3 separate regions of the Homo sapiens genome follow, and regions 2 and 3 are each linked to region 1. The links are contacts of gene promoters, found by promoter capture Hi-C in blood cells and fetal thymus (Javierre and others, 2016). All regions are on one chromosome and are shown on one strand. The core of a region is centred on a gene start or on the middle of the fragment in contact, and the rest is flanking DNA. Distances in the headings are between cores, read along the strand shown. Region 1 holds the start of SSH2 (slingshot protein phosphatase 2). Region 2 overlaps SSH2 (slingshot protein phosphatase 2). Region 3 overlaps SSH2 (slingshot protein phosphatase 2).

Evidence for each region. The method cuts DNA at HindIII sites, captures the fragments that hold promoters and counts their contacts. A CHiCAGO score of 5 or more calls a contact.
Region 2: a contact is called between a fragment that was not itself captured here and the fragment with the promoter of SSH2 in region 1, in 1 of 17 cell types (fetal thymus). The highest score is 5.3, in fetal thymus.
Region 3: a fragment that was not itself captured here is called in contact with the fragment with the promoter of SSH2 in region 1 in 7 of 17 cell types (M2 macrophages, M0 macrophages, megakaryocytes and 4 more); the score reaches 9.4 in M2 macrophages.

Annotation. Positions count from the first base shown.
Region 1 is chr17:29,928,971-29,931,484 of GRCh38, forward strand. It overlaps SSH2 (slingshot protein phosphatase 2), which reads right to left and starts at 1,258. Exons shown (of 16, transcript NM_001282129.2): 1 at 968-1,258. The coding sequence starts at 1,030. It also overlaps a transcript of EFCAB5 not described here. RefSeq lists silencers at 458-507, 1,018-1,297, 1,448-1,537, 2,271-2,440. The HindIII fragment of the contact is 8,919 bases long and covers 1-1,992 here.
Region 2 is chr17:29,723,855-29,726,368 of GRCh38, forward strand. The region is part of intron 3 of SSH2 (slingshot protein phosphatase 2); the gene reads right to left. Among named protein-coding and RNA genes, the nearest start is that of SSH2-AS1, 86 kb to the left of the region's middle. The HindIII fragment of the contact is 3,748 bases long and covers 1-2,514 here.
Region 3 is chr17:29,792,316-29,794,829 of GRCh38, forward strand. SSH2 (slingshot protein phosphatase 2) reads right to left here. Exons shown (of 16, transcript NM_001282129.2): 3 at 1,579-1,622. Among named protein-coding and RNA genes, the nearest start is that of SSH2, 140 kb to the right of the region's middle. The HindIII fragment of the contact is 2,493 bases long and covers 9-2,501 here.

The sequences.
Region 1 (2,514 bases), core at 8-2,507:
TAAAACATCTGGATGTTGGTTTTTTAAAGCCCATTTGCCCCACTGGTGCAATATATTGTTTTTAAAAATAAATATTTTCAAAAATGGAGCCTAAGAGAATGGAGTGTAAACGAATGGGGGTGGGGCGAGGAGAGAAGGCAAAGACGGGCCCAGCGGGGAAAGGCTGGTTACTGGGTATTTTCCTTCTGAGAGCATGCTTTATTGGCATAGGCATCTGAGGTAACGAGCCATACAAACACGACCTTAGAACAAGAATGATCACGAGCAATGAGTGTAAGGCATAAATATCTGTAAGACGGAAATAATTTGACACTGATCACTAAGCAGCACCAGATGCTTCGGGACCTCATAAAGGAAAGGTAAGAGGTCCAGGAAACAGAGATCATTGCTACCCTCTGGGGTGGGGGGCAGGCGGGAGAAACCAAGGAATAACTACGGTTGGGCAGTTCAAAGCCTGAACAGTACAGAGCAAAAGAAAGCCAGCAAGTGACTAGGGGAAGGCACACACCCTGGCGAGTACGAAGAAGGGTGTGCAGTGTGCAAATACTGAACAGGTCTATGAAATGGTGTGGGTAAGAGATGTGGGTGTGGGTAAGGGGCAACGCAGGAGGCTCACGGTCCCCTCCCTGCAGCAGAGCAACAGAGGGTAAAAGAAGGGGGAGGGTGAAAAGCAAGAATGACTCATTACCAAAAGGAAGTGCTCAAGCCATAGGGAGGCATGCCACAGGGGATTTCAGGGCGAGGATTGTGAGGAGCTAGGTGCTCAGGGTGATGGGGGCAAAAATCAACGTCTTGTAGTTCCTGCTGCTAGTCTTTAACATGGGGGTGTGGGGGGGTTCGCGGCAGCCGAGTGCCAAGGCCTGGGAAGCGGCGCGGCGCGTGCGCAGTGGCGTTCGGCGGGACCCGCTGAGGCAAAGCGGAGCCGCAGTGACAGAAGCAAGCGGAGCGGCCGCCAGGAAGGACTCACCGAGGCGCAGGGGCTGGAGGTGGTGCTGGGGGTAGGTGACCGCTGGACCGTGACCAAAGCCATCTAGGCGCTGCTGGGTTGTTCCGGGCAGGGCATTCTTGTCCTGAGTGTGGGGGACGGGAGGGTGACGGAGCCGGGATGGGGAAAGGGGTGCGGGGTGGGGGTGAAGGGAACGGGGAGGAGGAGGAGGCCGCGGGAACGGCCGCAGACTCCGCACCCACCACCAGACTGTCGCCGACTGACGCTCCGAACGGGCGGCGGGCGGGCGGTTCCGCAGCTGCGGGGCACAATGAGCGCTCCCAGTGCGCAGGCGCCACCTGTCAGCTACCGCCTCTCCCCTCGGCGCGCGCCGCCGCCTGGTCGTAACCCTTGAGTTGCCGGAAGCTGGCCGAGTGCGTGCGCCTCGGGCCGCCGCACCCTCCTGGGTTTCCTCCTTCGTGCTGGAATCGCGCGGTTTGCCAGCACTGGGTGCTGTGGAGTGGGGTGGGGGAAGGGGCCGAAGGGAGCCAGCCCGGTGAGGGGTCCCAGGGCGGGGGGCCGCTGGAGTCTTCACTCCTGAGAGACAACCATTTTATGAGGTGGGGCGGCGCACAGCTTAACCAACCTTAAAAAAAAGCAGCTGAGATGAAAATCCTGAAGCAAACACGTTTTCTATTGGGAAAGGGCTCCGCGGAGTTTCAAACCCTCTCACTGGGCGCAGACAGAACTGGGCTAGACCAGTTTACTCCCTTCACCCCGGCTCTCGGGGGCTTTTTCTTAACTTTTCCCCCCCTTCCGTCTATGTTTTATGATGAGACTTCTGGAAAGAAAACCATTTTCCGTTTGATACCCTGGAAAGGTTTGTGGTACCCTCATGCTTCCTCTATTGCCTGTCTAAAGACTTATTCATTATTCCTGAGGAGAAGAGAAGCTGAGCGCGCCTGGGAGTCCGAGGAAGCCGGTTGTGAGGGTCCAGCCTGCTATTGACCTCTCACTTGCCTCCTGCTGTGAAGACAGTCTTTTAATTAAACAGGATTTGCTCGTTAAGCTTTCTTCTCCTTCGTCTCTAAATGTCATTCTTTCATAGACCTATGTAAAAATGTAGATTAAAAGATATTTTAAGGGAATGGTTTTCTCAGGGGTAAATTGTCTGCAGAACATAAGCAAAGAATGTAATGGAAAATCAAGATTAAAAAGGAAAAAAATTGCACAATGCAAATATCACTGATTATTTACACAAAGAAAGAGAGTTGACAAGGCTATTTCTCAGCTTGAGTGGATGAGCTGGTAAATACCACCGTACATATCAAAGCTGTAGAAAACACACACACTTGGGAGTTTGCAGTTATTAAAACCCACCCCCTCCTGTTTGTCACTCAAACACTCTTGGATCTCATTGCTTCTTTTAAACTGACAGGGCTGTCATGAGCTCTTTCTGGCTGCTGTACGGTTAAACGCCACAAGAGTCCTCTGTGCTGAGCCTTTGTTCTCTCCCTGGGGCCCTGTGGTTGAAATAATTAGCAGGGAGGTTCCATCAAGAATCAGACACTGAGGGTCCCTGTACTGTA
Region 2 (2,514 bases), core at 12-2,511, 210 kb before region 1:
ACTTGCAAAGTTCTATCTGGTGTTCTGTCTTGAACTTCCCTTTTCTGAGAAGTTGGGTGTATTGTATGGGATACTCCCATACATCTACCTTCTGGGCAAACTGACTACAAAAGATGTGGGAAATCTCTTGTTCAGGCACAGTAGCCTCTCTTAGGTCCTATATAAGCTCCTCTTCCTGAATTCTCAGTCAGTTAATTCCACATAGTTCACAGGACCCACATTTTCCTGTTGGTGACAGCAAAAGCTACAACAGACCAAATTATAATTTAATCAACTAGATACAGATTTTAACTCAAAGGTGTAATACATGCAAAACAGAGGAAGGTGCCTATTCTTTCTGTACTCATATAATCTAACTGAGGTTTTAAAATGTGGATGTCAGAACCTATTCTAGCCGGGCAGGGTGGCTCACACCTGTAATCCCAGCACTTCGGGAGGCCGAGGTGGGTGGATGGCCTGAGGTCGGGAGTTCAAGACCAGCCTGACCAACATGGTGAAACCCCATCTCTACTAAAAATACAAAATTAGCCGGGCGTGGTGGCACATGCCTGTAATCCCAGCTACCTGGGAGGCTGAGGCAGGGGAATCACTTGAACCCGGGAGGCGGAGGTTACAGTGAGCCAAGATTGTGCCATTGCACTCCAGCCTGGGCAACAAGAGCAAAACTCTGTCTCAAAAAAAAAAAAAAAAAACAAAACCCTATTCTAAGGACCCAGATTACCAAATCTTTTTTTTTTTTTTTTTTTTTTTCAAAGAGACAGAGTCTCGCTCATTGCCCAGGCTGGAGTGCAGTGGTGCATTCTCAGCTCACTGCAACCTCCACCTCACGGGTTCTAGCAATTCTCCTGCCTCTGCCTCCCGAGTAGCTGGGATTACAGGCGCATGCCACCATGCCCAGCTAATTTTTGGTATTTTAGTAGAGACAAGGTTTCACCATGTTGCCCAGGCTGGTCTCAAACTCTTGAGTTCAGGCAATCCACCCACCTCGGCCTCCCAAAGTGCTAGGATTACAGGTGTGAACCACCGTGCCTGGCCGTTAATTTTTTCTGAAGGTGTTCTAGTTGATTCTGAAACTCAGTTTGGTTTGAAAACTTTTCAAGAATACATCACAGATTTTCATTCAACAGGTATTTGTTGAGAGCTTATTATGTAGCAGGTCCCATTCAAGGCACTGGAATACAGCAATGAACTTTTATAAAAGCCAGGGAATCGGCCAGGCACGGTGGCTCACGCCTGTAATCCCAGCACTCTGGGAGGCCAAGACGGGCAGATCACGAGGTTAGGAGATCGAGACCATTCTGGCTAACATGGTGAAACCCCGTCTCTACTAAAAATACAAAAAATTAGCCGGGCATGGTGGTGCGTGCCTGTAGTCCCAGCTACTCAGGAGGCTGAGGCAGGAGAATTGCTTGAACCCAGGACGCCGAGGTTGCAGTGAGCCAAGATTGCACCACTGCACTCCAGCCTGGGCGACACAGCAAGAATCAGTCTCCAAAAAAAAAAAAAAAAAAAAAAGCCAGGGAATCCCATTACTGGGTATATACCCAAAAGATTCTAAATCATTCTACTATAAAGACACATGCCACATGCACATGTATGTTTACTGCAGCTACATTTACAATAGCAAAGACTTGGAACCAACCCAAATGCCCATCAATGATAGACTGGATAAAGAAAATGTGGCACATATACACCATGGAATACTATGCAGCCATAAAAAAGAATGAGTTTATGTCCTTTGCAGGGACATGGATGAAGCTGGAAAACATCATTCTCAACAAACTAACACAGGAACAGAAAACCAAACACTGCATGTTCTCACTCATAAGTGGGAGTTGAACAATGAGAACACATGGACACAGGGAAGGGAACATCACACACTGGGGCCTGTCGGAGGGCTGGGGGCAAGAGGAGGGAGAGCAGTAGGACAAATATCTAATCCATGTGGGGCTTAAAACCTAGATGATGGGTTGATAGGTGCAGCAAACCACCATGGCACATGTATACCTATGTAAGAAACCTGCATGTTCTGCAAATGTATCCCAGAACTTAAAAGAAAATTTAAAAAAAGCCAGGGAATCAATAGATTTGTGACAGTGGAGGTAGAGAGAGACAAATAAGTAAAATGTCAGGTGATAATAAATGCTGTGAAGTAAGCAGTGGGTAAGAGGCTAAAAAATGACAAGGTGCACTGCTGTTTTAGGTAAGGAGGTGGTCAAGATGATATTCGAGCAGAGACTTAAATAAAAAATAAAACAAACACACTAACCGCCCTCTCCAGAAGAGAGGGGAGGCAGAACGCTTCTTCCTCCATGGAAGGACATCTATTCAATCCATTCTGGAGCCTGGGTAGGCATTAGTCAGGTGAAAGGAGGTTAGGAGGGAAAAGAAAGGATGTTTCAGGCAGGGGGAGCAGCATGTGCAAAGGCCTGGTCAGAGGGACAGAACAACTTCAATCCTATTGTATGGGGAAACAGTGGAGAGGGCTTCAGTACAGATGGGGAGAGGTACAGA
Region 3 (2,514 bases), core at 5-2,504, 140 kb before region 1:
ATATATAAAGCTTGAAATTGACTCAGAGAGCTTTAAATCTGACCTTCTAGAAAATATAAGAATTATTTTTTCATTCTAATGGGAATATGATTACGATGCCTCTGGTACACATTCAGCTAAAATTTATTTTTGGTTTCTACCTCCTTAGCCCTATGCAAAAGAAGGACACTTCTCTTTGCTAAGAGACACGAGAAATTAAGCCTTAAGCCCACAATTTATGTGTTAACAAATCAGGAAAAAAACTACCGATAATCTCAGTTACTGATGAAAAGGAACTATTTTTATATTAAGTTGTAGTTTACAAGAAGGAGGTATATATCAACAAACACCTGATAATAATAATAATAATTTTTATTATTTTTTGTTTGTTCTTGTTTTTGAGACGGAGTCTCGCTCTGTAGCCCAAGCTGGAGTGCAGTGGCGCGATCTCGGCTCACTGCAAGCTCCGCCTCCCGTGTTCACGCCATTCTCCTGCCTCAGCCTCCTGAGTAGCTGGGACTACAGGCACCCGCCACCATGCCCAGCTTATTTTTTGTATTTAGTGGAGACAGGGTTTCACCGTGTTAGCCAGGATGGTCTTGATCTCCTGACCTCGTGATCCGCCTGCCTCGGCTTCCCAAAGTGCTGGGATTACAGGCGTGAGCCACCGCGCCCGGCCTGATAATTATTAAAGCAGCATTCCCTTTAGCCAGCTTCTTCACAATGAGCATGCTTATTGATCCTTTCTCTGTATCATCTAGAATGGCTCATTTGAGTTCAGAGGATACAAGTTTGGTAACATTGAAATGACCATCTAGAACTTACCAGGCCTGTTTCTTGTGGGAGGGAGTTACTTTTAAAAACCCTTAAAGGAGATAAAATAAATGTTATTTTATACTTCCTAGATTTCTCTCACAATTGTTTTCTTTTAATGTTACTGGGTACTGGCACCCTTCTAACAACATGCCCACTATTCCATGAGAAGAGGGTAAAAATATTTCATTGCATTTTAAAAGATTAGGTAGGTTACTCAGTATACTTACTCAGTATACCCTTTGTATAGAAACAAAGTGAAATATTTACCAATCTGCAAGAATTGCCAAAATTTATCAAATATGAATGACAAATTAAGTACAAAACTGAAGGCTGAAATGTTCTTCAGTTGATATTTTCCTGAAAGGTAAGGAAATTTTGCTTTTTTATTACCCCCAAGATAATTCCTTGGATGCTTGGGTGAAAACTGAGCCAAAATTGACCTTTCTGCCTCTTTTTAAACCAATGTACCATTGAAAAATCTTTCTGAGTCAGTAACTGGATTCCTAAAGCATTCGCTCTTACTCTTTTTTTTTTTAAAAAACGGAGGAAGGTCCTGATACGTTGTCTCAAACTCCTGGCCTTAAGCAATCCCAAGTAGCTGGAATTACAGGCACAAAATACCATGCCCAGGTGCAATCTGGTTTCTTGAGAGACCAAGGAAGCACGTTGAAAAACAAGGATAAGCTAATCTGATAAGACTGAAAAAGAATTAGAGAAAAAACAATAACTACTACAAAAATATCCTACAACAAAAATGCCGTAGGATATAATGAACAAACATACCTCCTGGGCTGTGACCGGCATTCTTCCTCCCCACTGTCTGCCTCCTGTATAGACAGAAAATGAAAAAAAAAATTAAAACCTGAGGTTTCATATCATAATATCACTAATATAATTTTACTAAGTTTCACATGTTGTGTACTTGAACTAAATTACTCATGTTGTATACTTGAACTAAATTCTCTTCAAAAAAAGTGACTTCAACCAACCCAGGAAGTTGATGTCAATAGAACTTACTCCTGGAGGTAACTTCAACAGTAGTCCATGAACAAATTTCATTGACAATGAAGTGCTATTCATTAAAACAATTACCTCCAAAAACCAACTAAACATGTTATTTTACTGTTATGCTACTTCAGCTTCAAAACGAGTGGGCATTCTGACTACCACCAATAAATCTCATCAATATAACCTATTAATGATTCTGACCCCCAAAGAACAACCTAAACAATGAACACCACTTAAAAGAGAGTGCTCATGATCAAATCACCATCAACATCAACATAATGGCTACCACTTGTTGAGTACTTACAATGTGCTAGGCACTGTGTTCCTCAATTTAAGTACATTACTGTACTTATTCTTTATAAACCCAGAAGGTTGATGGTACCAATTATTTTTAATTTATTCAAATACACACAGTAACATAGGATAAATCAATGTCATATAAAAGCACTGATGGTTAATGACCCACCCAGGGATGCCAAACAATGATGACAACAAAAAGCACTGAATCATAGTTCAATTACAATATTTATTTCTTCTTAGTGTGGCACATAAAATAATAGAAAGTCTTATAACTTATGTCAATTTAGACTCAATGAATATTTTACAGATGAAGAAGCAAAAGGGAAATAAGCTGTCCAAGGAGACTCATGTGGTAAAGAATTAAAACGAAGAAATATTGACTCCCAGCTAGCTGAAAAAGCTTATCATTTA